Linked DNA regions of Homo sapiens: all the other regions are linked to region 5. Evidence: promoter capture Hi-C in 16 types of primary human blood cells and fetal thymus (Javierre and others, 2016). All regions are on one chromosome and are shown on one strand. Each heading gives the region's core, a stretch centred on a gene start or on the middle of the fragment in contact. The rest is flanking DNA. Distances are from core to core; before and after follow the strand shown. Region 1 overlaps ADCY7 (adenylate cyclase 7). Region 2 overlaps TENT4B (terminal nucleotidyltransferase 4B). Region 3 overlaps ADCY7 (adenylate cyclase 7). Region 4 overlaps TENT4B (terminal nucleotidyltransferase 4B). Region 5 holds the start of SNX20 (sorting nexin 20). Region 6 overlaps TENT4B (terminal nucleotidyltransferase 4B). Region 7 has its middle 10 kb from the start of ADCY7.

What was found. The method cuts DNA at HindIII sites, captures the fragments that hold promoters and counts their contacts. A CHiCAGO score of 5 or more calls a contact.
Region 1: a contact is called between a fragment that was not itself captured here and the fragment with the promoter of SNX20 in region 5, in 9 of 17 cell types (activated CD4 T cells, non-activated CD4 T cells, monocytes and 6 more). The highest score is 12.3, in activated CD4 T cells.
Region 2: a contact is called between a fragment that was not itself captured here and the fragment with the promoter of SNX20 in region 5, in 6 of 17 cell types (total CD4 T cells, naive CD8 T cells, neutrophils and 3 more). The highest score is 9.5, in total CD4 T cells.
Region 3: a fragment that was not itself captured here is called in contact with the fragment with the promoter of SNX20 in region 5 in 6 of 17 cell types (naive CD8 T cells, total CD4 T cells, naive CD4 T cells and 3 more); the score reaches 7.8 in naive CD8 T cells.
Region 4: a fragment that was not itself captured here is called in contact with the fragment with the promoter of SNX20 in region 5 in 10 of 17 cell types (total CD4 T cells, non-activated CD4 T cells, total CD8 T cells and 7 more); the score reaches 11.7 in total CD4 T cells.
Region 6: a contact is called between a fragment that was not itself captured here and the fragment with the promoter of SNX20 in region 5, in 5 of 17 cell types (total CD8 T cells, non-activated CD4 T cells, monocytes and 2 more). The highest score is 8.6, in total CD8 T cells.
Region 7: a fragment that was not itself captured here is called in contact with the fragment with the promoter of SNX20 in region 5 in 4 of 17 cell types (total CD4 T cells, neutrophils, total CD8 T cells and 1 more); the score reaches 6.7 in total CD4 T cells.

Annotation. Positions count from the first base shown.
Region 1 is chr16:50,283,356-50,287,284 of GRCh38, forward strand. All of the region lies in intron 1 of ADCY7 (adenylate cyclase 7), which reads left to right. Among named protein-coding and RNA genes, the nearest start is that of MIR6771, 7.3 kb to the right of the region's middle. RefSeq lists an enhancer at 579-1,080. The HindIII fragment of the contact is 581 bases long and covers 2,203-2,783 here.
Region 2 is chr16:50,223,694-50,227,448 of GRCh38, forward strand. It overlaps TENT4B (terminal nucleotidyltransferase 4B), which reads left to right. Exons shown (of 12, transcript NM_001365324.3): 8 at 964-1,090; 9 at 1,198-1,301; 10 at 1,405-1,592. Among named protein-coding and RNA genes, the nearest start is that of ADCY7, 41 kb to the right of the region's middle. The HindIII fragment of the contact is 8,159 bases long and covers 1-3,755 here.
Region 3 is chr16:50,316,694-50,320,449 of GRCh38, forward strand. ADCY7 (adenylate cyclase 7) reads left to right here. Exons shown (of 26, transcript NM_001114.5): 26 at 1-1,442. It overlaps BRD7 (bromodomain containing 7), which reads right to left. Exons shown (of 17, transcript NM_013263.5): 15 at 3,555-3,698; 16 at 3,194-3,337; 17 at 1-2,573. The coding sequence ends at 2,518. Among named protein-coding and RNA genes, the nearest start is that of MIR6771, 26 kb to the left of the region's middle. RefSeq lists an enhancer at 2,401-3,600. The HindIII fragment of the contact is 7,497 bases long and covers 1-3,756 here.
Region 4 is chr16:50,204,279-50,207,899 of GRCh38, forward strand. The region is part of intron 1 of TENT4B (terminal nucleotidyltransferase 4B); the gene reads left to right. Among named protein-coding and RNA genes, the nearest start is that of TENT4B, 53 kb to the left of the region's middle. The HindIII fragment of the contact is 6,724 bases long and covers 1-3,621 here.
Region 5 is chr16:50,679,350-50,682,911 of GRCh38, forward strand. It overlaps SNX20 (sorting nexin 20), which reads right to left and starts at 1,963. Exons shown (of 4, transcript NM_182854.4): 1 at 1,841-1,963. The HindIII fragment of the contact is 15,976 bases long and covers 1-3,562 here.
Region 6 is chr16:50,177,927-50,181,450 of GRCh38, forward strand. The region is part of intron 1 of TENT4B (terminal nucleotidyltransferase 4B); the gene reads left to right. Among named protein-coding and RNA genes, the nearest start is that of TENT4B, 26 kb to the left of the region's middle. The HindIII fragment of the contact is 5,075 bases long and covers 1-3,524 here.
Region 7 is chr16:50,254,590-50,258,384 of GRCh38, forward strand. It overlaps a transcript of ADCY7 not described here. Among named protein-coding and RNA genes, the nearest start is that of ADCY7, 10 kb to the right of the region's middle. RefSeq lists an enhancer at 1-94. The HindIII fragment of the contact is 8,884 bases long and covers 1-3,795 here.

The DNA of each region.
Region 1 (3,929 bases), core at 1,243-3,742, 400 kb before region 5:
TTTCAGGTGGGCTCTCTCCTTGTGGTGGCTCGGGTGTCTGCTGACAGTGTCAGGTCACCGACAAAAGAGAACGCCTCTTTCCCTGGGTCAGCAGAAGTCCAAAGAGAGCCTTCACTTCCCAGGCCTGTGGCATTAGGGCTTGAGAGGGACTTTGCTGATTGGCCACACTGGGGTCATGTGGCCCATGAACCAGGGTACTGAGGGTCGGGAGAAGGGACATTGCACAGCAGAAGCATGAAATACCCTCCTCCCATGTGGACACCTTCCCCACAGGGGAGTCCCCTCTTCTTTAAAATGGGGCTGCTCACCCTGCTCTACCACTGGGGTGGTCGTGAGGTGAGAGTAAGTAAGGGACCCCCTGGGACTGCAGTCTCCTCAGGAAGAGGGGACGTGATACCTCTGCTCTTGGTGGCTTTGGAGTTCAGACAGGACCCATGCGGTGTGGGTGAGGGAGTGACAGGGAGGCAGGGCTTGCCTTGAGCTAAGGGAGGACTCAGGGCCAGAAAAAGTGCCCAGTGATGGAGGAGACTGCCCTGAGAGGTGGTGAGCCCCCCCGTCATGGAGGTGTGCAAGCTAACAGCAGGGTCATTCAATCCGGGAGCCCTGGATTGGATGTGTCTCAGACATGGCAGAAGGATTCCTTTATCCAGGGCCTTGTGGGGAGGCCCTCCCTGTTGCCAACTGAGTCGAGGGCTGGTGGAAGAACTGGTGATTGGACAGGAGGCCTTGAAAACTTCCCGGGCAGGGGGTGCCTCTGGGTCTGGCTTTGGCGGGGTGGCTCCTAGGGAGGAGCTGGCCTGGGGACATGCCACTGGTGGTGGGTTCCTGGGCCCCCTCTGGAGATGTGATCAGTGAGTTCATTCCCCCCAGGCCTCACGGTGCCCGGCTTGTTCCAGGAGCTGGCCAAGGTCCCTGGATGGGCTGAAGTCCTTGTGCCCATGTTGTCCACTGTCCACCTGCGCCTGCCTGCCGTTGCCCAGAAAGTGGCCTAATGAGTTCCTTGAGAGGCGTGTTTACCAGGCCTGTGTTCCCACGGGCCCTTGGGACTCTCTCAGCTGGTTCCTCCCTTTCCTCGTGGTGGCCCAGCCTGGCTTTGTGTGCCTGGAGCGGGTGTGTCCACACACTCTCACACTTGCACTTTCATGCACGTGTCTGGCCGCCTCAGCTCTGGTCTGGGGGCTTTGCCTGGGAGATGGAGCAGTTGTGGGGAGTGGCCTCAGCCCTCTGGTGTTTGGAGCTTCTCAGCCTGGCTGTCCTGGTGCACTGGTGTTTGGCAGCAGGCCAGGGGTCAGGTGGGTTTGCTGTTTGTGTGCTGTGGCATCTGGCTCAGTCCCCCGGGATGTCAGTGGGCAAGCCTGGGCTGAGGAGCCCTGGTTTGGGAGCTGGCAGACCTGGGTTTGCATCCCAGCCTATCTGTCCACCAGCTCCAGCAGTGTGATCTTAGGCAACCACTCTGCCTCTCTGGGCTCAGTTCTGCATCTGTGAGACGGTGGTGCCACCTTGGCCTTTGCCGGTTGTGAAGATGAGAGTGAATGTGTGTGCAGGTGCCGGGGGTGACAGGAACTGCTGCTGTTATTACTGCAAAGGGCTATTTTGGGGTGGGGGGTGCTGAATTGAATGTATCTCAGGCAGGGACCTTATCTTGTTTGGCAACCCCCACAGCACAGGGTTGGATGTATATGGTTAGCACACAGTAAATGCCTCTTGTGGAATACAGACTGATTAGTTTAGATTTAGAGGTTGTAAACTAGTGGGCTGCAAATATTGAAAAATTTGAAATCAGCTGCCAACATTTAAAAATCATCATTTCACGTAGAAATCAGATTTGTAGCCTGTCTGAGCACTTTGGGCACTTTGACAGCTCTTGGCCACATCCCTGAAGGGTTGCCCCTCGTTGAACAGGTGCCAAGGCCTGTAGACACCTGCCCAGGCACTGAAGGGGATGGGGCCCCCAGCAAATGACCCCTTCCTCCTTCCCCAAATATGTGGTTTTACCATTTTGTTCCTGGTGTGTGGTGATGGAATAGGAACTTCCAGAGGAAATAGAGCCTGAGGTGGCTCCTGGAATTGAGGTGGCCCCAGGGATCTCATACTAGCAGGTGCTGGTTGGGGACTTGGGGACCCTGGATATCCTGCTTTTTGCCTTTGGGGGCTGGGGGCTCACCTGGCCATCTTCCCTCCGCTGGACCAGCTGTCCTTTGAAGCTTCTGCTGGCGGCTGGCCATTTGTGCCCTGTGACTGCTCTGAGCTGTCCCGTGTCTCACAGCCTCCCTGCCCTCTGCCTCTGGCCCTGTCCTGGTTCCAATCTGAGGCAGGCCTGGAGGACACTGGGGGCGTGGACTCTTGGTCCAGGGTTGCCCCCTTCATGCAAGGTTCCTGCTGGGAATATGGCAGCTGTCCCCAAGTCCCCATTGCTGTGTGAGGGATTGCACAATTTTGGTAATTTTCCTACCTTTGGAGACTGATGGGGATCCCTGGGGAGAGAGAGCCCAGACTAGCACACAGGAGATATAAGGGCTGGCAGGCGTAGGTGTGATTCACAAGCCTTTTTGGAATCAATGAATATGCTAAGGAATGAATGGTGCTGGGGAAAGAAGGAACCCATATGGGCTGAGCATGGCAAGTGTGGGGTCAGCTCACAGTGTTGTCACAAAGGGGCCACTGTGTCCCTCTCTGAGACTCAGCTCCCTTTTCTGTGAAGCACGGCTTGCAGACATCTGAAATTTGTATCAGTGGGCTATTTAAAAAAATAAACAAGATTTTTGCTGGGTACAGTGCCTGAAAGCTTAACACTTCGGAGGCTGAGGAGGGTAGATTGCTTGAGCTTAGGAGTTCAAGACTAGCCTGGGCAACATGGCAAAACCCCATCTCTACAAAAAATACATGGCCTACTGCAGCCTAAGTCTCCCCAGGCTCAGGTAATTCTCCCACCTTAGCCTCCTGCATAGCTGAGGTCCCAGCTACGCAGGAGTCTGAGGTGGGAGGATTGCCTGAGCCCTGGGAGGTTGAGGCTGCAGCGGGCTATGATCACACCACTTCACTCCAGCCTGGGTGACAGAGTGAGACCCCATCTCAAAAAAAAAAAAAAAAAGAGAGAAAGAAAATGCAGTTTTATGTGGAGCTTACTGTAACACAGATGCAGGGGGCTACCCTGGCTGAAGCAGGCATGGGGGCCTGAGCCTATGCCCCCCCACCTTCCCTTCCCATTGGGGGCCTGATGCATGTCCCCAAATCTCAGGGCTCCTAGGATCACAGCTTGGAACCCTCTGTGCCTGGAGGCATGAGACTCACTGGAAAATGAAGTGAATGTGGTGATTGCACCAGGACCATGGGGACAGAGCAGAGCCTGGAAACAGACACCATCTGTGTGTGATCACCTGACTTATGACAGAGGTGGCTCCACTGAAATTCAGAGAGAGGATGGCCGGTTCACTGAACACTGCTGGGATAATTCAATATCCATATGGAAAAAAGAAGTGAACCTTGATCCCTACCTCACACCATACCCAGAGTGAATCGAAATGGATCAGAGACCTTTGTGTGAAAGCAAAACAGTGAAACATGCAGAGCAGAGCTGGCCTGTAGAAGCTTCTGTGATGATAGACATTCTCTGTTTATCTGTGCTGTCCAGTACAGCAGCTGCATGTAGCCATTGGGTATTTGATTTTTTTTTTTTTTTGAGATGGAGTCTCACTCTGTTGCCCAGGCTGGATGCAATGGCACGATCTCAGCTTACTGCAAAATTTGCCTCCCAGGTTCAAGCCATTCTCCTGCCTCAGCTTCCCGAGTAGCTGGGATTACAGGCACACGTCACCATGTCCGGCTAATTTTTGTATTTTTAGTGGAGGGGGGTTTTACCACGTGGGCCAGGCTGGTCTCGAACTCCTGACCTCAGGTGATCTGCCTGCCTCGACCTCTCAAAGTGCTGG
Region 2 (3,755 bases), core at 47-2,546, 460 kb before region 5:
GCCTTGATTACAACCAATTGTCAGCAATTAATGAGGCTTTAATGAGATGATTCTGAAGTCCTGAGAGGCAGCAAGCATAGTAATATATCTTTGAATTCATGAGCAGAAGGGTGCAAGGAGACAATGTATTTTCTTTTTGAATTTCTCCTTTCCTGTTTGATTTTGCATGTCTCTTTGTGCTTTTTCCAGCTTCATGTGGGCTTGAAAGTAAGCAGAAAGTAAATTCCTTCCATGCTTTTCTGAAGTTCTGTTTGCTTGCTTGTGTCCTGATTTTTGTGAGCAATATTTTTTCTTGATATAATTGTAAAATAGATTCTGCGTTATTGGACTTCAGTGGAAGTGCTTTTAGTCATTTGCTTTAATGTGTAAACTTTGAAAATGAGTAAGGAAAGGGGGTGAAGAGATAGAGTAGTTGCCTAGGAACCATTTTCTGGCTTATTGAGCTGCCTTATAAACATTAATAGTTCTATGTGTTTATTCATTGAGGAAACATTACATTGATTGGGAGCCTGCTCTGTTCAAAAGTATTGGGCCAAAGGACACGAAGACTTTTCAGCAAGACGATCCTTGCTTTTTAGGGGCTCATAATTTAGAGTGAGAAATAGATATATAGCTAATATAAACCCAAAAAATATAGAAGTATTTCTGATGTAACTTGGGGTTTCACTCTTAGGAGTGAACAGGGCACTATTTCTTTTGTTTGCATAACTGTTTATGTATGGAATGGGATAATTCTTGATGGGCCAGAATACATTCCGGCAACTGATACACCATAATGAAGTACCAACTGCATGATTCACATATTCAGAGACTGGGGAGCTTTGGGGACAGCTCACAGCTCAGCTTCCAGGCACAACTCTGGTGGGATAACTATGGCCCTTGCTCTCCTGGAAGAGAGTCATCAACATTTAGTGCATATTAAGCACAGTCAGGCTTACTATGTTACGTATATTTCTTTTAAAGGTAACGATGTTGGAAGGAGTTCATATGGGGCCATGCAAGTGAAGCAGGCCTTTGATTATGCCTACGTTGTTTTGAGTCATGCTGTATCACCAATAGCAAAGTACTATCCCAACAATGAAACAGAAAGGTAAAAGTTCATCTATAACCAGCCCATTGTGTCAAAATTAGTTGTGGCTTCTTATCTTCAAATTAATGTTATTCCCTCCCTCTCCCTTTCTTTTTAAACACATGCAGCATACTAGGTAGAATAATTAGAGTAACAGATGAAGTTGCCACATATAGAGATTGGATATCAAAGCAGTGGGGCTTGAAGAATAGACCTGAGCCTTCATGCAATGGTAAGATATTTTCCTTGGTCGATTGACTGAGTATTAGAGGCTTTTCTGTGTTGTGTGCGTTTAATGGGAAGAAACGTTTTCCAATCTTTTGCCACTCTTTCAGGAAATGGTGTTACCTTGATAGTAGATACTCAGCAGTTAGATAAATGTAATAATAATCTATCTGAAGAAAATGAAGCCCTTGGAAAATGTAGAAGTAAAACCTCGGAATCTCTTAGTAAACACTCTTCAAACTCTTCATCAGGTCCAGTGTCGTCCTCTTCTGCCACACAGTCCAGCTCTAGTGATGTAGTAAGTATGAAAGCCTCGGCTCTTCTGAACTCAGATGCATGCACGTTCTCTTGCTGGGGTTAACACTGTCTCGAAGGCTAAGGCTACTTCCTTTGCTTACATGTTACTGGGATATTTTAATAACTTTCATGCTTGTACATTTTCTCAACATTTTGTTATGAAAAAGTTCAAGCATATAGTAAAAGTGAACAAATTTTAGTGAGCATTCATGTACTCACCAGTAGATTCTGCTATTAACCTTTTACTTGCTTATGTCATACCTGTCTATCCATCACTCTATCCATTAATTCATCTTATTCTTTGATCCATTTCAAAGTAGATTACAGACATCAGTTCCCCTAGAGTACTGTAGCTTGTGCATCCTTGTAGCCAGACTCCAGTATTTGTTTATTGTTTTTTCCTTTTTTTTTTTTTTGAGACGGGATCTCCCTCTGTCACCCAGGCTGGAGTGCAGTGGTATGATCTCGGCTCACTGCAACCTCCGCCTCCCATGTTCAAACGATTCTCCTGCCTCAACCTCCTGAGTAGCTGGGATTACAGGTGCGTACCACCATACCCAGCTAATTTTTTGTATTTTTAGTAGAGACGGGGTTTCACCATGTTGGTCAGGCTGGTCCTGAACTCCTGATCTTGTGATCCACCCGCCTCAACCTCCTAAATTGCTGGGATTACAGGCATGAGCCACCACACCTGGCCTTTAACGTTTTTCTTTTCTTTTCTTTTCTTTTTTTTGAGACGGAGTCTTGCTCTGTCACCCAGGCTGGAATGTAATGGCATGATCTTCACTCACCTCAACCTTCGCCTCCTGGGTTCAAGCGATTCTCCTGCCTCAGCCTCCTGAGTATCTAGGATTACAGGCATGTGCCACCACACCCAGCTAATTTTTTGTATTTTTAGTAGAGATGGGGTTTCACCATGTTGGCCAGGCTGGTCTCGAATTCCTGACCTCAAGAGATCCACCCGCCTCAGCCTCCCAAAGTGCTGGGATTACAGGCGTGAGCCCAGCTGTTATGACTTTTTAACACCATAGTTAGTTTTGCCTGTTTCAGAATTTCATACAAATGGAACCACATAGAATATAGTCTTGTGTAAGGCTTCTTTCACTCAATTTTTTTTCAGCTTTCTGGTTGAATTTTTTGTTGTTGTTGTTTTGTTTTGTTTTTTGAGACGGAGTCTCGCTCTGTCGCCCAGGCTGGAGTGCAGTGGCGCGATCTTGGCTCACTGCAAGCTCCGCCTCCCGGGTTCATGCCATTCTGCCTCAGCCTCCCAAGTAGCTGGGACTACAGGTGCCCGCCACCACACCCGGCTAATTTTTTGTATTTTTAGTAGAGCCAGGGTTTCACCGTGGTCTTGATCGCCTGACCTCATGATCCGACTGCCTCGGCCTCCCAAAGTGCTGGGATTACAGGCGTGAGCCACCACGCCTGGCCAAATTTTTTTTTAGTTGAGATATAGTTAACATAAAATTCAGCATTAAAAATGTACAATTCAGTGGTTTTTAGAACATATTCACAATGTTGTGCAGCCATCTCCAGTAATTCTAGAACATTTCCATCACCCCAAGAAGAAACCCTGCATTTAGCAGTAGTTTCTTCTAATTCTTCCTTCCCTCCCTTAACCTCTGGTAACCTCTAATCTACTTTCTCTTTCTATCCTGATAGAATTTTTTTTGTTCCCCCATCCTGATAGAATTTATGTGTCAATTATAATGTAAGTTACCTTTTAAAATCAAAGTGAATTTGTAGTGTACTGATTTGAGATCTAAAGCAGGCTTACCTGTTTGAGTTTAACTTTATTAAGTGTAGGACATGAAAAGTAATCTAAATATTGTATGTTGTTGATGATGACCATGTGTCAATATGGAATCATAAATCCTCCTGTGCAGAATCTCCCTGTGTGCTTTTTTGGTTCCTAGAGCAGTATGCTTTGGAGGACAGAAGCCAAGCTAGATGTCACAGACACAGGGAGATGGAGTGTTGGGGACTGAGAGAATGTGACTCTGACATGCTGGGTAGAGTGCCAGGGCCAGGGTGGAGACCTGCAGAGAGACGTAGCATTGTCATGGCCCATGCAGCCCAGAAATAGGTGGAGCTCAGCCCACTGTCGCGGGAAGTCCACCCCCACCCACACCAGTATGTTTGGTTAGAATGATCACTGATTTGT
Region 3 (3,756 bases), core at 769-3,268, 360 kb before region 5:
GATGTGTCTTACTGTGCTTCAACTTCCCAAGGAATTGAAAGTCAACCTAACTGTAACAACAGGGTGAGAAATGACCAAACTGCCCGTGACTTTTTCTGAATGGACTTCATAACCGGAAGACTTAACCGGTGGCCTCATCACCAGAGCATCGCCAGGATTTCTAATGCACTCAGTTTCCCTACATAGCAGGGATTCTTAGCTAGGTGTCCCCATGAACCCCGTAAAGTTCTACACAAAGTCTTGCATACAGGAGCCTTTACAAGATGATTATACAGGGTTGCAGATTGGGTGACTGACCAGACTTGTTGGGGTCCTGGGATGAGTTGCCCCGGGCTGCAAATTAAGAGTACAGCTAAGTGCGGGGGTGGCGGTGGAGGGAACGAAAATTGAACCTGTCTGCCTGTGCTGTGTCGTGTGGCTTTATCAGCCCGAGGAAGGGCAGGTGTATTCTAATTTGCACAAAGGTGCTGGGTAGACTAGTGGCAGCTCTCATGTGCTGCACATAAGTGGAATCAGTATGAATAGAAGAACTTGCTGTATAAAGGAATTTCATGGCAACAATGCTGGTAAGGGCAATTAGCCTCGCTTAAGTTGCCTTTTTTACACACCAAAACTTTTTACATGAAGGGCTGGTTTCACATGAATACTATACTGAAATCTGTGCTCTCAAGATCTAGCAGTGACCAGGGCTGCCCGGCGGGGGCTCTCCTGGCAAGTCAGGAAGGTTTCTGTTGCTAATATAACATAGAAACACATTAGTGCACTGGGCCTCTCTGAGGTCAGCATATTTGTACTCTTGGAATATTTGTTTTTTTCTTCAGTAACAACAGAAACCCCAGTTGGGAGTTTAACAAATAACTGACTACCACTCACTCATGCATTTTTATTTCCAATTAAAGCAAAGCACTGTGCTGTGCTCAGATAATAATAGTTTGTAAGTAAAAGTTTTTAGTTTTCAGTGTTCAGGTTATAGAATATAACTGACCATAAAAATTACCTGCAGGTATTTTCTTTTTATGAACTTGTTTTTAAATTACCAAGTAATTACTGGTGTCATTTTGTTTTATGACAGACACACGTATCTAACAAACAAACAAACAGTGACCTTCTCCATGGGTCAAGGACTTCCTTACAATTTCTCCTGAGTTAACTTTTGTGAAAATAATACCTAAGGTTTTCTGGCTTATTGAGGAAATTTCCTAACAAACAAACAAACAAACAAACAGAAGAGAAGATCATTAACCACTGTATACTTTGTGTATATAATAGGTCAGTGTAAAGAAATATGATTTGAGGTGGTGCATGCAAGTAACTAGGGTTTATTCTATATAATGAATATTTATAGATCTGTAACATTTGTTTCAAAATGCTGTTTCATTTTTATAAAGTACCAGTGTTTAGCTGCTTTTTATACATTAAATTAGCAATTTGAAAAACTCAAATATCTGAAGGTATTTTATTTTCGTGGTCCTCATGAACTCACTAGAGATTAAAAGTAGACTCAAACAACTTGAAAATTTGACTCTTTTAGCATAAGATTTTAAGTCTTTTGAGGGAATTAATTTTCCTTTACCCTATTTGTTCTTCCTAAATACTAATTAATTTTCAAAGTCAGGAAAATAATAGAAATCAAATGGCTTCCTGCCTGGGTGATTTATAGAAGGATTGTATAAGGGCCTTCAAACTTAATTTGTTCACTGAACAAGGCTATCTATCTATCTATCTCCATCCTGATTTTTTTCCCTTGTGTATAACAGGTTCTATACCGATTCAGCAAAATCACCATTTATCTCAGCTTGCTGATAAAAGGGGGCCATGAATCTTGTGGTCTCCTACTTAGAGTTCAACTCCTTGGGTACTTGACCTTTGTATTTCAGATAAACAGTAAGTAAAGTAGAAATGTCACCTTTTGGTAATCTGGTAATTCCCTGATCTATTCAAGGATGACTTAGTTTATCTTATTTGGCTTATTACTTTGCTATAGTACTAAGTAACTCCTCTTTCTTTAAAAAACGGAAAAAACCAAAAAAGAACACTAGCCATGTGACAGTGCTATAAAACTCCCAGTGTGCTTTTGTCAGGGGTGGGTGGGAGGTGCCTAATTACCCATACAAGGGCATCATTCCCACTGGGTATGCAGGGGCAGAACCACAGTAGTAAATTCTAAAATTATTTCAAGTATGTTCGTATAACGGAAAATCTCACTGGATGGGGCCGTTTTAAGAACGCTTCTTAGTGATGATCCTGTCTGTGGGACATAAGGAAGAAGCATTGGAAGGCACTATTTTGAAAGAATGCTGCACAGGTATGGCAACAGCCCCAAGCACATTCCTTCCTCACGAGTCCCAGGTCCAGCTTTATTACCTAATACAAGTCCAACCTCTGGAACATCCAAATTCGCTGTTCCAAAGTTTAATTAAAAACACAATTTACAAATATTTAATATCTTCTGAAAAGCATTTCTAAGTTAAGAATGAAAAAGTATGTACATAATATATAATCAAATACCAGGCAGCCTCAACTTCCACCAGGTCCACACTCAGCAACATCCGTCTTTTTAGGTTCTTCAGTGTCTGAAAGAAAAAGACATCACTTAATTCAACATTGTTTTTACCTTTTAATTAAAAAGGGGACATGAAAGTCAAGCTGCCATCCAGAAGCATAACTGCTGAGAGCCCTTCTTCACCACATCCAAGGCTGAAGACTACGCGCATTATCAGGTGATCATTGTGGCTCTTCTGCACACAGGAAATCTTTATTAATTCTTTAGACAAGATAAAAAGAAAACTAAGAGTAGTTTATACATTAAAAACAGATAAATGTTCCTTTTACAGTTGACCCTTCTTATCCATGGGTTCCACATCTGCAGATTCAACCAACTGCCAATTAAAAATATTTGGGGAAAAAACCCAATTAAAAAAATACAACAAACAATGAAAAAAATATAAAAAATACAGTCTATTAACTACATTCTATGAAGTATATAAGTAGAGATGATTTGAAGTATACTGGAGGTTGTGTGTAGGGTATAGGCAAATACCTTTTATGTTAGGGACTTGAGCATCTACAGATTTTGCTATCTTTGTGGGGTAAATACCAAATCCGAGGTCCTGATACCAATCTCGGGCAGACACTGAGGGATGACTATAGTCACCATAGCTTTCTGCTTTCCCAGAGAAAACAGGGCACGTACCTTCTGTCAAATCCACAAAGTTGTTTTCCATGACGGGGGAAGGAATGGAAATCCCCATTGCTTTTCGAACTCCATACGTGCTTACGATATCACCTGGAGTTACTTGCTGTGCAAGTTCTTTAAGATTATTGGTCACTTGTTCAGCTAAAAAGAAAAACAAAGTTCCAGATACTAAAGCATGGTTCCTTTAGATAGAGGCATCCCAAAGAACAGTAAATGTACACATGCAAAGAAAACAAAACAAAAAAACTGTCCCTGGGATTCACATCAGCATTACTCTATAGTGGCATCACCACTGTACTCAAGAAGTTTTTTCTTTGAAGCATCCCGTGACTCTCCTCTTATGGGAGGCAAAACATACCAAGATGCATTTCTCTGTATGAGGGACCCAAGAGACAGATCATGTTCGGAGGGGGTCTGGTGCTCAAACGTTCATTCTGGGCTTCCTGGAGTTCCCTGAGCAATCTGGTGGTCTCATCAAGTTTCTTCTGGAATATTTCAGCTTCTGTGTGGTAAGAAAACAGACACACTTCTGTTTGATCTTGTGCAGTAAACCGAATCCT
Region 4 (3,621 bases), core at 454-2,953, 480 kb before region 5:
AGGTGGAGGGGCAGGGTCTGATTTGGAAGTGTTTTGTTTTTTGGTTTTGGGAACAAGGATTTGGAAACCTCTTGGCTCCGTAGATGAAGAAAGGTGAACCAAGGAAGACTGAAGTTTCCACTCAAGGAAACAGTAACTCAGGGAAGAAAACACAGGAGTAGGAATAGGTTTAAGAGAATGACAAGCAGTTGTGTTTTGGACTTGTTTAGTTCGAGGTGACATCTTTGTAGGGATGTCTAGCTGGTAGCTGCAAGTATAGGAGGAGGCTGGATGTGTGCATGAGTTTCTTGGTAAAGATCCATCTGCAGTCTCCTGAAGATGTCACCCAGATTGCCCTGCCATCACCCCAGGGCCTTGAGTCACTCGCTTCTCTTGGTGTCTAGGCAGGCTTGAAGAAAATCAAACAGTACAAAATCATGCAAATTCAGACCTCTATTCCACCCCAGAGGAAAGTCCTGCTAGCAGTTTTTGTGTATTCTTCCAGAAATTTGCCTTGCAACGCGTTTGAGTATATAAATAATCCCAGAAAGGATGGGCCAGACACTAGCAGAAACTCACCACACACACTGCACTGGGCATGCAGAAACTTTGCAAAATGTACTGGTGTGTGCTGTCACTGCATTCCTGGGTTTGGAGGTCTTCTGTGTCCCCAGCTGTCAGTATTGCCCACAGGCTGACCACTGAGCTCCTTCCACAGCCGGCCCATATCACCCTCTTTCGAAGTGTGTCTGCAAGGCTAGATTATTAGAGTAATTTAAGTGTTTCTGCTTTGTGTTTTCTTTAATGAATTTTTTTATGATGAAGTTCTTGTTTTAAAAATATACAGTGGTAATTAACATGTATGCATTTTTCTTAAAATGACCCCCCCAGTCCCTCTTCGGATGTGATCACTGTTAACAGTATCGTATATAGACCCTGTTCTGTGTGGGGCGGGCAGAGGGCTGGTTAGTGGGTGGAACATGCATACTCACAACCATATTTTTCACATGGGAAAATATAAAGGTGACAACAAATCTCCTGGACTATAATCTCATCAAGCAGACAATAATCTCTGTTTCAAAAGTGGACAAATACATGCTGATTTTTTAAAAAAAATTATAATAGTACAGAAAGATACAAAAATAAGTTAAAGTCTTCCTAACTCTCCTGCCTGTGCCCTCCACTGGGCAAAAGTCCCTGTCCCTAAGGTAATATCTGTTAACAGTTCTCCTTCCAGAAAACTTGCAATGCAAATAGGAACATTTTGTGTGTCTGCCTCTGTGTGTATGTGTTTACATGTCTTTTTTTTTTTTTTTTTTTTTTTTTTTTTTTTTTTTTTTTTTTTTTTTTTGAGACAGAGTCTTGCTCTGTTATCCAGGCTGGAGTGCAGTGGCATGATCTCAGCTTGCTGTGATCTCTGCCTCCTGGGTTCAAGTGATTCTCATGCCTCAGCCTCCCGAGTAGCTGGAATTACAGGCGCCTGCCACCACACCCAGCTAATTTTTGTATTTTTAGTAGAGATGGGGTTTCGCCATGTTGGCCAGGCTGGTCTGAAACTCCTGACATCAAGTGATCTACCCGCCTCAGCCTCCCAAAGTGCTGGGATTACAGGTGTGAGCCACTGCTTCTGCCCCTGCACATGTCTAACGCACACAAAAGAGATTCTGCTGAACACATTTTTTATGCTTTTTCTTTCCAATTTAACATATTTGACATCTTTATCAGCTTATATAGCTTTATTTTTTTAAGAGGTTATTGGCTATAAAGGGAAAGTGCTTTATGGGTGCTTCTGTTGTTATTTAATTGGATCCTGTTGATGGACATTGATATCATTTCTAAATTTTTTAGTATCCTAATTAATCCTGTGGTGAGCATCCTTATACAGATATCCTTGTTCCCTCATGAAAATATTTCTGGAGGATGGAAAGAAGGGAAATTTTAAAAATTATTTGTGTAAACATTATCGTTTGTTAGTAGAATGACCTCAGGAGAGATTGTAGTAATTTATACTTCCCCACATGCATATGAATGCCTTTTCAATATATTGTTTCAAAATTGGATATCATGAACCTTAAGAGATAAATATATATGTATGTATTTTTTTTTTTTTTTTTTTTTTGGTGGGGGCATGTCCTGTTATTGACAGTTTGTTTTGGTGGAGGGATGTCCTGTTATTGACAGTTATCGAATAGAACTTTGTCAGTTCCTTCATGTAAGGGATGAATTTGGTAATAAAACAGGTCTGACTTCAGTTATGGAACTGGGAAAGCTGGACCTTGATGTGGAGGTGGGCTCAGACATGCTGTGTCTGGGCAGGTATCTCTTGGGAAGCAGTGTCATCCCTGAACAGAAACATGGATGAGCCGCAGGGGACGGTGCTGAGCAGAGGGGCTGGCCGTGGGTCATCTGCCTCCCTTGGCCTAGAAGGCACAAGGGAGCTTTCCACCTTGCCTTTGGTTTTGAGAATGCAGAAGCTACTAAGCAACTCACAGTGTGCCCAGGGTGGTCCAGCTGAAGGATGCGAAATGGTTCTTCCTTTTCCAGCCAAAGATCTTGAACCTCCCACCCCATGACAAGCATTATAAAATTCACATAATTTTGATAGGCTGGATTCCTTTTCTGTAGCAGATCTTTCCTCAGAACAGAAGTTTGTTTTTTTTTTTTAACCTAAATTACCTGTGAGTTTTATTTTTTAAATATGGAATCTGTTTTTTGGACACCTCCTTGTCATATTAAATGTTCTGTTATTAATTTTGAGATTTTAATGTAAATTTTACCCCAGCAAATTAATTTTGTTTCTCTTGCTCTCTCTTTTTTTTTTTTTGGCATCCTTTCCCGTTGTATAGTGGTGCTCATTTTATCATACTGCTTTTATATGACTTTTCTTTTGTGAACAGGGATCTTGTTCACTTTTCCTTTTTTAAAAATTTTTTTATTTTTTTGAGACGGAGTCTTGCTCTGTTGCCCAGGCTGGAGAACAGAGGCACAATCTCAGCCCACTGCAAGTTTTGTCTTCCGGGCTCAAGCGATTCTCCCACCTTAGCCTCTTGAGTAGCTGGGATTACAGGCGTGCACCATCACGCCTGGCTAATTTTTTTGTATTTTTGTAGAGATGGGGTTTCACTATGTCATCCAGGCTGGTCTCGAACTCCTGGACTCAAGCGATCCACCCGCCTCAGCCTCACAAAATGCTAGGGTTACAGGCGTGAGCCACTGTGCCCGAGCCACTTTTCCTTTTAACATAAAAACATTGATATCCTAGAGAGGGCACTGTATTTTGGGTACATACAGGTTCAGATCACGGAAGAGTTGTATTCTATACTTTTTTTCATCATTCTTAGTTCAGTATGATGTATTTTATAATTTCATATGAGAAACTGTAACAATGGGCATGTGTCATCCAGCAATACCTACTCATAAATCATATTAAATTTTGATCCAAACATGGGAGAAACTGAAGTTTTCTCTGTGTACTTGGATGCTTTCAGAGGCATAAAATTATATTACCATGTGAAAGCAAGCCTACAAAATTCCTCAGGTGGTCCACTCTGCCACTCAAATGAGAGCCAGACTTACAGTGCACACTCTACAAACGGACTTCCAGCTCGTCAGGGTATTTTAAGTGCCTGAATATGCAAGGCA
Region 5 (3,562 bases), core at 713-3,212:
GGGAGGTCAGCTGGGGCCTGGAGCCTGCACTTCAGGGGGAAGTGCTTGCTGTGTCGGGTGAAAGGAACCCTGGGGCCTTCTCCGTTTGGCTCTGCACAGCCATCCAGTGGGCGGCCCTCAGGGACCCTCGATCCAACCTCACCTTTTACAGATGGGCAAACAGAGGCACGGAGCAGGGGCCTGGCTGGCCCAGGGCTGCACGTTCTTGAGCATGCCGTCACGGGCACCTCTCGCTTGTCTCTTGTGCCTGTCAGGGAGTCAGGAGACATCGCCTTCCATCCTGACCAACCGTGTGTCCTTAAGCAAGTGCTTTAATATCTCTAGGCTTCAGTTTCCCTACCTGATAAATGTGGCTACAAGCCCCGTCCTGTTGATAAGATGATGGATGACTAGGGGTGGGTTCCCTACATTCTGACTGGTGCCTAAGTGAGACAGTGGATGGTTTACGTGATTCTTGGTGGCTGGGATTCTTGGGGGCCCAGGGCACTCCTATGCTCAGCACTTCTGTAAAATGGGTGATGGCGAGTGGCCTTGGCCTCAGGGGCCCCAGCCTTTGCAGATCTGCTTTCATGACCAGGCAGCTGGCTCCAGGTCAGAAGCAGGGCACTATTGGCCCAGAGACCCTGTAAGACCCTAGAAATGATGCCTCGGCTTGACACTCCAGTAAAGACTGAGAAAGCTGATTATAAAACCAGGCCTTAGAATAAAATCAAATTCAGCAGCCACAGTCAGCTCCCTTATGGTTGTCTCTTACAGGTTTCATTGGGAGTCACCCATTTAAAGAGGAGGGGGAAGGAAAGAGTTGTGCACTGGTGTATCCATGGGGCCTTGGGTAGCTTCCCATCCCTCTCCAGGCCTCAGTTTCCTCATCTGTGAAATGGGAAAGCAATCCTGTCACTCTAAAAGCTCTCTGGGGATAGCCACATAGACGGTTCCATGGCCCTTTCCTTCCCTCTCCTCACCCTCTGTAGCAAAGATTTCTTGACTTTATAACAAAATACTAAAAGTGTTGTTGCTGTTGGCCTGGGGGCCTGTAGTTGGCCCAGGGGACAGAGCAGCTTCCCAGCCTCCTCTGCCTTCCAGCCGTGTGTGCACAGACAGTCATTCTCCTCCTCCTGTCCCCAGGTGTCCTAACCACCCCCTCTCCAAGAGCTGACTGCCAAGTCCAGTCCTTCTTCTGCTGGGCACACAGAGGCCACACTATCTTTCTGAGGGCCTGCGGAGGACTTTTCATGGGGGATGAGCCTCTAGGGGGTGAAATAAAGCACATGGCCCACGCTGGGAGACAGAGATCCCAGGATGTTGGATGTGTGGCTGCCTCTCTTGGGGAAAGGGTGGGTACCCTCCAACAACTGGACGCTCACCTGAGAAGCCTTGCCAAAGCCAGGGGCTCCCAACCCAGTGTGTGTAAGAATCCCCTGGTGGGGTGGGGGTGGGATCCCAGGGGCTTGTCCAAGAGCAGGTTTCCTGGCTGCTAACATAGGAAGGTGCCATTGAACAGGCCTGGATTCTGCATTTTCCATGAGTCCTCTAAGGCTGTGCTGAGGCAGGGGTTCCCTGACACTGTTCTTTTGAGAAACACAGGTGTGGTGACTTATTCTCCAGGCCCAAGATGGGTTGTACAAGCGCCTAGCATTTCAAAAGGAATGGAGGTGATGGAAGGTCCAGGAGCTGTCCCTTCCTCTGCCTCAGTGTGCTAAGGAGAGCTCCAGACACAGTGGCTGTCACTAACTCTTCCCCCTCCCACCCTGCCCCCAGCAGGTGCCAGGCAGGGCCCCAGGAGAAGGGGACTCAGGCCACAGCAGGCAGAGGACAGCTGAGCTTGGGATCAAATACTGACCTCCAGTCTCCAGGGCTGTGTGTGTCCAGGGGTCCGGGAGGAGTGTCATATGGCCCCTTCGAGCTCTTGGTTCTCAGCTCCGGCGACAAGCCGAGGGGCTGCCACTTTCTAAGTTCCCCGTTTGAAAACAGGAAACAGGCTGTGTGACCTGCTTCTGATCGCCCCAGCCCATTGGCTGGTGAAACATGGTATATTGAACTCAACTGCCAGCCTGCCAGCTGTACCCACCTCTTCTTCCGGGTAGCGCAGGGAAGGGCAAGGCGGTGTGGGGCCAGCCCTGTGGGATTTAGCTCAGCCTCACTTTCCCTGCCGCCTTGCAGAGGTCTGGCTGTCCTTCGAGTCCCCGTTGATCTCTGGAATTCAGGCATTAGCTCCCAGAGCCCTTTAACATTCATTATTCTACTCTATGAGCTAGGCATGATGGGGGCCGTCATGCCCCTTGAACAGATGGGAAAACCGAGGCTTGGATCACAGAGCTGGTGGGACACAGAGCCAGTGACTGACATAGAAGAGCAGTGGGGTAGAATTACAGTTCCATCTGGTGCCTTTTCTCTGAGCAAAGCTGTATCCATCACCACCAACAGAAAGTCCCAGGGAAGCGAAACCCCAGGGCAGTGTGGTGTGATTCATGCCCACCCATCTTTGTGGCCTTGAAGGCAAGAAACAGAAATCAGACAAAAAAAAAAAAAATAGAACTTTGCTGGCTCGCCCAGAAGTTTGCCATGTGTTTTTTTTTGAGCCATGATTCCCTTCCTCCCTATTAGAGGCAGTCACAGTCCTGATTCAGATGGGGGTTACTTCTTGGCTTTTCCTTAGAAATTTACCACCTATGAGATCCCCAAACAATTCAGTTTCATTTTACTCATCTGTGAATCTTATATAAATTGAACCATGCATACTGTGTGTATTCTCCAGTGCCTTGCTTCTTTCATGCAACATTTATGGGTATAAGATTCACTGATGCATTTCTGTGTAGATACTTTTTTTCATTTCCATTGTTGTGTTGCTACATTATTATTATTATTTATTTTACTTTAAGTTCTGGGATACCAGTGTAGAACCTGCAGGTTTGTTACATAGGTATATATGTGCCGTGGTGGTTTGCTGTACCTATCAACCCATCATCTAGGTTTTAAGCCCTGCATGCATTAGGTATTTGTCTTAATGCTCTCCTTCCCCCTGGCCCCCACCCCTGACAGGCCCCAGCGTGTGATGTTCCCCTCCCTGTGTCCATGTGTTCTCACTGTTCAACTCCCACTTATGAGTGAGAACATGCTGTGTTTGGTTTTCTGTTGCTTCATTATTTAAATACATCACCATTTGTCATTTTTTGTTTTGTCTTTTGATGCACACTTGGGTTGTTCCTAGGGTGGCCATCATGATCAATGCCACTGATGATATTCTTACACATTTATCCAAGTCCATGTACTTATCTGAGGTGAAATTGCTGGGTCTCAGAGTATAGATAGCTTCAACTGTGCTAGATTACGCCAAATATTTTCCACAGTGGCTGTGCCATTTTGTATTCCCACCAGCAGTATATGAGAATTCCAGGTGCTCCACCTTCTTACCTGCACTTGATATGGTCATTATTATAATTATTTTAAAGATGGGGTCTTGCTCTATCACCCAGGCTGGAGTGCAATGGTACCATCATAGCTGACTGCAACCTAGAACTCCTGGGCTCAAATGATCCTCCCACCTCAGCCTCCTGAGTGGCTA
Region 6 (3,524 bases), core at 1,006-3,505, 500 kb before region 5:
TTTTCATTTAGTTAGAAATATCTCTTGAGACTTCTTTGACCCATCTGTTATTTAGAAGTGTATTGTTTAATCTCCAAGTATGTATTTTGGGATTTTTCTGGCTATCTTTCTGCTGTTGATTTCTAGTTTAATTACATGTGGTCTGAGAGCATACCTTGTATGCTTTCTATTCTTTTCAATTTGTTAAGGTGCTCTTTGTGGCTCAAGGTGGTCTACTTTTTTTTTTTTTTTTTTTTTAAAGAAAAGCTGGCCAGGTGCAGTGGCTTATGCCTGTACTCCAGCACTTTGGGAGGCGTAAGTGGGAGGATCACTTGAGGTCAGGAGTTTGAGACCAGCCTGGGCAACATATAGAGACTTCACTTGCACAACAAATTTTTAAAATATTAGTTGGGTATGGTGGCATATACCTGTATATGGCTGAAGTGGGAGGATTGCTTGAGCCCTGGAGGTTGAGGCTACATGAGCCATGATCGCACCACTGTACTCCAGCCTGGGCAACAGAGTGAAATTTTGTTCTCTCTTGAAAAGAAAAAAAAAGTTGATGACATAAAGTTCATTCATCTTTTTTGTATGTGACTTCAAAATAACTACTGATGGTTAAAAAAAAAATCAGAATGATGCAACCCAAGTGTCCATCAATGGATGAATAGATAATATGTGGTGTATGAATACAATGGGCTACTATTATTCAGCCTTTAAAAATAAGAAAATGCTGACACTGCTGTAACATGGATGAACGTTCAGATCATTATGCTAAATGAGAAAAGCCAGACACAAAAGGACAAATATTGCATGATTGCACTTATATGAGGTATCTGGAATATAAGAGTCATAGAAACAGTAATTCAGTAATTAGAATAATGCTTGCCAGGGCCTGTGGGGAGGAGGGAATGAGGAATTCATGTTTAATGGGTACAGAGTTTCATTTGGAAAAGATTAAAAAGTTATGGAGGTGGATGGTGGTGAGGATTGCACAACAGTGTGAATGTACTTAATACCACTGAACTGTACACCTAAAAATGATTAAAATGGTACATTTTATGTTACATATGTTTTACAACAATTTTTACAGATGGAAAAAAATTATAAAAAACATCAGGATGGTGTTGACAGTGAAAAGGTTAAAGAGTTACTTTAAAAATTTACTTTATTCCAGCCGGGTGCGGTGGCTCACACCTGTAATCCCAGCACTTTGGGAGACCGAGGCGGGTGGATCACCTGAGGTCAGGAGTTTGAGACCAGCCTGACCAACATGGAGAAACCCCGTCTCTACTAAAAATACAAAATTAGCCAGGTGTGGTGGCGCATGCCTGTAATCCCAGCTACTTGGGAGGCTGAGGCAGGAGAATCGCTTGAACCCGGGTGGTGGAGGTTGCAGTGAGCCGAGATCTTGCCATTGCACTCCAGCCTGGGCAACAAAGCGCAACTCCGTCTCAAAAGAAAATTTTTTTTTTTTACTTTATCCCAAATGTTTATATTTACTTTGGGGCTTATGTGACCAGTTTAATTTTCATTTGTAATTGACTTGATAGAACACACTAATGTTCAGTTAAGATTTCTTATGGTGTGGTGAGGAGTAGGATTTTTATGTAAATAAGCCCAAAATTGTATATATGAGGTTAATCTGATATTTGCAGAAGATATTCATGCATTACTGTAAGGACCACTCTGCTTATTCATTTGACCGATTTGTTACAACATGGTTAGAAATCATCAAGGTGTTTGAGATCAAAGGATCTTCAGAGGTGATTTACTCCAATCCTTTTTTAAAAAATTAATAACTTGAGCCTCAGAGAAGTTAAGTGACATTACCAAGTTCTGCTGTTAGTATAGTGACTTTATCTTTACCTGAATCCAGGGTTTCTTAGCCCTAGTCTGTAATGTGTCCTAGTGTGCCTCTAGAATCTGGTCCTGTCAGCCCAAGTCTGTTAAATCAAATAAAACCAGGGCTTGGTGCTTCACCTTGTCTTCTGCCATACCGTTGGGTTTCCTGTGGACCATGCAGATAATGATGATGGGCTCAGTGGGCTTGATAGTGATAACTCCTAAAGCAGCTCCTTCTAAGTGCGGTTCTCAATCTGAGGAAGTTAAAAAAAAAATTAGTGACTAGAACCCACTTCTCAGGTACTCTGATAAAATACATTTGTAGGGGAGTGATAGTTTTCACTTTCTTTTTTTCTTTTTCTTTTTTTTTTGAGATGGCGTCTCGCTCTTTTGCCCAGGCTGGAGTGCAATGGTGCGATCTCAGCTTACTGCAACCTCTGCCTCCCAGTTTCAAGTGATTCTTCTGCCTTAGCTTCCTGAGTAGCTGAGATTACAGGTGTGTGCCACCATGCCTGGCTAATTTTTGTATTTTTATTAGAGACGGGATTTCACCATGGTTGGTCAGGTTGGTCTCGAACTCCTAACCTTGTGATCTGCCTGCCTCAGCCTCCCAGAGTGCTGGGATTACAGGCATGAGCCACTGTGCCCAGCCTTCACATATTTTTTGAAATAATAGGCCAGTTGCGGTGGTTCATGCCTGTAATCTCACACTTTGGGAGGCCGAGGTGGGCAGATCACTTGAGGCCAGGAGTTCAAGGCCACCCTGGCCAACATGGCGAAACCCTGTTTCTACTAAAAATACAAAAAAATTAGCCGGGTATGATGGCATGTGCCTGTGGTCCCAGCTACTCTGGAAGTTGAGGCATGAGAATCGCTTTAACTTAGGAGGTGGAGGTTGCAGTGAGGCAAGATCGTGCCCCTGCACTCCAGCCTGGGTGACAGAGCGAGACTCCATCTCAAAAAAAAAAAAAAAAATCGTATGCAGTAAAGGTTGAAAACTGCTGCCCAAAGGCGCTATTAAACTATAGGTTCCCAAACCTGGCCAATTGTCAAAATCCCTCAAGAAGGGGCAGTGGGGTCTAAGGGACCCCATTGCTGTAGAGGAGATTAGTAGTCCAAGAGTGAGATGAACTGTTGGAAGTCCTCAAACTTCCAAACTATTAAAATAGAATAGTTTTGCTTCCTTAAAATAGAATAGTTTTCTTCCTCACTGATTTTTCTGTATTGATTAGAACCATAACAAGTGAATTAAACAACTACAAAATAGTTATGTGGGCCACAGACATTATTGTAATGAAGTGAAGTTTGGCTCAGGCCTTGTAACACAATTGCTTTTTGGATTAAAAGTAAAAATATTAAATTGTGAAATTATGTGTAAGTTTTAAAAAATTGGTCTTGTACAAAAGTGTTGGGTTTTTCTTTGTTTTTAACTGGATTTGTTTTTAAGCAAGACAGAATATTTATATTGTTGGAGAGTCACAAAGGAGGTGTGTTTGTGGATTTAAATGTGGAGACAGTGTGCCTTGAAATGCCCTTTATCAGTCTGATTCAAGCCACCTGCAATCATGGATTTGAACTTTTTTTTTTTTTTCCCCTGAGATAGGGTTGCCTAGGCTGGGGTGCAGTGGTGTGATCTTGGCTCACTGCAACCTCTGGCTCAGCCTCTTGGAGTACCTGGGACTATAGGCACACAACATCAT
Region 7 (3,795 bases), core at 581-3,080, 420 kb before region 5:
GAAATCTATAAAACAATGAACCAAGAAATGGAACAAGATACAAATAGATGGGATTTTATCCATGTTCATGGATTGGAAGAATTAATATCGTGCAAATGTCCATACTACCCAAAGCTATTCAATGCAGCCTTTGTCAACATTCCAGTGACTTCTCACAGAAAAAGAAAAAACAGGGAACACACCTTTGGTTTATACCAAAAGCTGTGTCTCCCTGCCCCCCCACCCCCACCCCCTGCCAAAACAAAAGAAAAAACAATTCTAAAATTCAGGTGAAACCACAAAAGACCCCAAATAGCTAAAGTGATCTTGAGCAAGAAGATCAAAGCTGAAGGCATCACACTACCTAATTTCAAAATATATTACAAGCTACAGTAATTAAAATAGCATTGTACTGGCATAAAAATAGACACATTGGGCTAGGCATGGTGGCTCATGCCTGTAATTCTAGCATTTTGGGAGGCTGAGGTGGGAGGATTGCTTGAGGCCAGAAGTTTGAAGCTAGCCTGGGCAACATAGCAAGACCTTGTCTCTACAAAAAAAAAAAAAAAAAATTAAAAATTTGCCGAGTGTGGTGGCAGGAGCCTGTCGTCCCAGCTACTTGGGAGGCTGAGGTGGGAGGATTGCGTGAGCCTAGGAGCTTGAGGTTGCAGTGAGCTATGATTGTGCCACTGTACACCAGCCTAGGTGACAGAGTGAGCCAATTAAAATATATATATATATTTATAATTTCTTTTTTATAGAGATAGGGCCATCTAAAGTGCTGGGATTACAGGCATGAGCTACCATGCCTGGCCCATAAGACTCTGTTTCTGGAAAAAAAAAAAAAAAAAAAGACGTATCAACCAATGGAACAGGATAGAGAGCTCAGAAATGAACCCATGAATATATTTACAGCCCAATGATTTGTTTGTTTGTTTGTTGTTCAGATAGTGTCTCACTCTGTCACCTAGCCTGGAGTGCAGTGGTGGGATCTTGGCTCACTGCAAACTCTGCCTCCCATGCTCAAGCCATGCCCCTACTTCAGCCTCCTGAGTCACTGGGACAACAGGTGCATGCCACCTTTGGCTAATTTTTGTATTTTTTGTAGAGATGGGGTTTCAACATGCTGCCCAGGCTGGTCTCGAACTCCTGAGCTCAAGGGCTCTGCCTGCCTCGGCCTCCCAAAATGCTGGGATCACAGGCATGGGCCACTGTGCCTGCCCAGTCCATTGATTTTTTTGACAAAGATGCCAAGGACCCACTATGGGAAAAGGATAGCCTCTTCAATAAATGGTGTTGAGAAGACTGGGTTTTCACAGGCAGGAGGATGAAATTAGATCCTTACATATAAAAACCAACTCAAAATGGACTGAAGACTTAAACATAAGACCTGAAACTATAGAACTACTAGAAGAAAATATAGGGAAAAAGCTATGTGATACTGGTCTGGGCAATTATTATTATTATTTTTGACTCCAAAATCTCATGCAACAAAAGCAAAAATAGACAAATAGGATGATGTCAAACTTAAAAGCCTCTGCATGGCAAAGAAAACAGGTAACAGAAGAGACAACCGATAGACTGGGAGAAAATATTTGCAAGCCAAACATCTGAAAAGAAGTTAATATCCAAAATAGATAAGGAACTCAATAACAGCAACAACAACAACAAACCCAATTAAAAAATGGGCAAAGAACCTGAATAGGCATTTTTCAAAAGAACCCATGCAAATGACCAACAGGTATACAAAAAAATGTTCAACATTACTAATCATTAGGGAAATGCATATTAAAACCACAGTGAGGTATCATCTCACACCTGTTAGAATGGCTATTATTAAAAAGACAAGAGAAGCCAGGCGTGGTGGCTCACGCCTGTAATTCCAGCACTTTGGGAGGCTAAGGCAGGAGGATTGCTTGAGCCTGGGAGTTTGAGACCAGCCTGGGCAACATAGGGAGAACCCATCTCTACAAAAAATAAAAAAACAAGGCAGGTGTGGCAGCGTGCACCTGTAGTTCTACCTAGTCAGGAGGCTGAGGTGGGAGGATCACTTGAGCCCAGAATTCAGAGGCTGCAGTGAGCTATGATCACATCACTGCACTCCAGCTTGGGCAAGACCCTGTCTCCAAAAAAAAAGAGACAGGTGTTGGAGATAATGTGGAGAAAAGGAAACCCTTGAGCACTGTTGGTGGGAATGCAAATTAGCACAGCCATTATGGAAAATAGTAGGAACCTCCCTTCCTTCCGCTTGTGGGTACATATCCAAAGGATTTGAAAGCAGCATGTCAAAGAGATATCTGCACTCCCATAATCATTGCAGCATTATTCATAATAGCCAAGATCTAGAAACAAGTGTCCATTAATGGATGAAGAAAATGTGACATATATACACAATGAGATACTATTTAGCCTTAAGAAAGAAGGAACAACATGGGTGAACCTAATGGACATTACACTAAGTAAAATAAGCTAGGCACAGAAGGACAAATACTGCACGATCTCACTTATGTGTGGAATCCAAGAAATCTAGGCTGTGTGCGGTGGCTCATGCCTGTCATCTCAGCTCTTTGGGAGGCTAAGGTGGGAGAATTGCTTGAGGCTAGGAGTTCAAAACGCATGGGCAACATAGCACCCCACCTGTACAAAACAAAACAAATGCAAAAGACCACCACCAACAAAAAAATCCAATTGAACTCAGAAGCAGCAAGTGGAAGGGTGGTTACCAGAGGCTGTGTGTAGGTAAGGGGGGCAGGGGTGGGATGGGGAGAGATAGAGAGAGGTCAGTCAAAGGATACAAAGTTTCAGTGGAGGAATAAGTTTTTTGAGACCTATTGCACAGCATGGTGACTATAGTTAATGTACATTTCAAAATTACTAAGAGGGTAATTTCAAATGTTTTCACCACAAACAGTGCTAAATACTTGAGGTGATATGTTAATTAGCTTCATTTCATCATTCTCCATTGTATATATGTAACGTCACCTTGTATCCCATAAATATATACAATTATAACTGATCAATTTACAATAAAATTAAAAAAACAAACATTTTACCACACATATTGCTAAACATTAGCAGTAATTCTTTAAGATCGTAACTATCCATTCGGTGTTCAAACTTCCAATTGTTTTGTAAATGTCATATATATATATATTTATATTTTATATATTAGATTTATCTTTTTTTTTCTTTTTTTGAGACAGGGTGTCTGTTGCCCAGGCTAGAGTGCAGTGATGCGATTTCGGTCCACTGCAACCTCTACCTCCCAGGCTCAGGTGATCCTCCCACCTCAGCCTCCCTAATAGCTGGGACCACAGGCATGCACCACCACACCAGGCTAATTTTTTTGTATTTTTTGTAGAGACAGGATTTCACCACGTTGCCCAGGCTGGTCTCGAACTTCTGGACTCAAGTGATACGCTTGCCTCGGCCTCCCAAGGTGCTGGGATTAGGGACGTGAGCCACCGTGCCTGGCCTATATGTTAATATTAGCTTTTTAAAATCAGGATCCAGAGCCAGGCATGGTGGCATGCACTTGTAATGTAACCTCCAAGCTACTCGAGAGGCTGAGGCAGGAGGATTACTTGAGGTTGGGAGCTGGAGGCTGCAGTGAGCTATGACTGCGCCACTGCACTCCAGCCTGGGTGACAGAGAGAGCCCCTGTCTCTTTAAAAAATAATAATAATCAGGATCCGAATGAGGTCTGCATGATGAGACTGTGATATGTTTCTTCAGTTTTTCATCTGTAGGACTGGTACTCATTCTCTCTGTCTTCCATGTGGTGTTTTTGTTGAAGCTGGGTCCCTTTACCTGTAG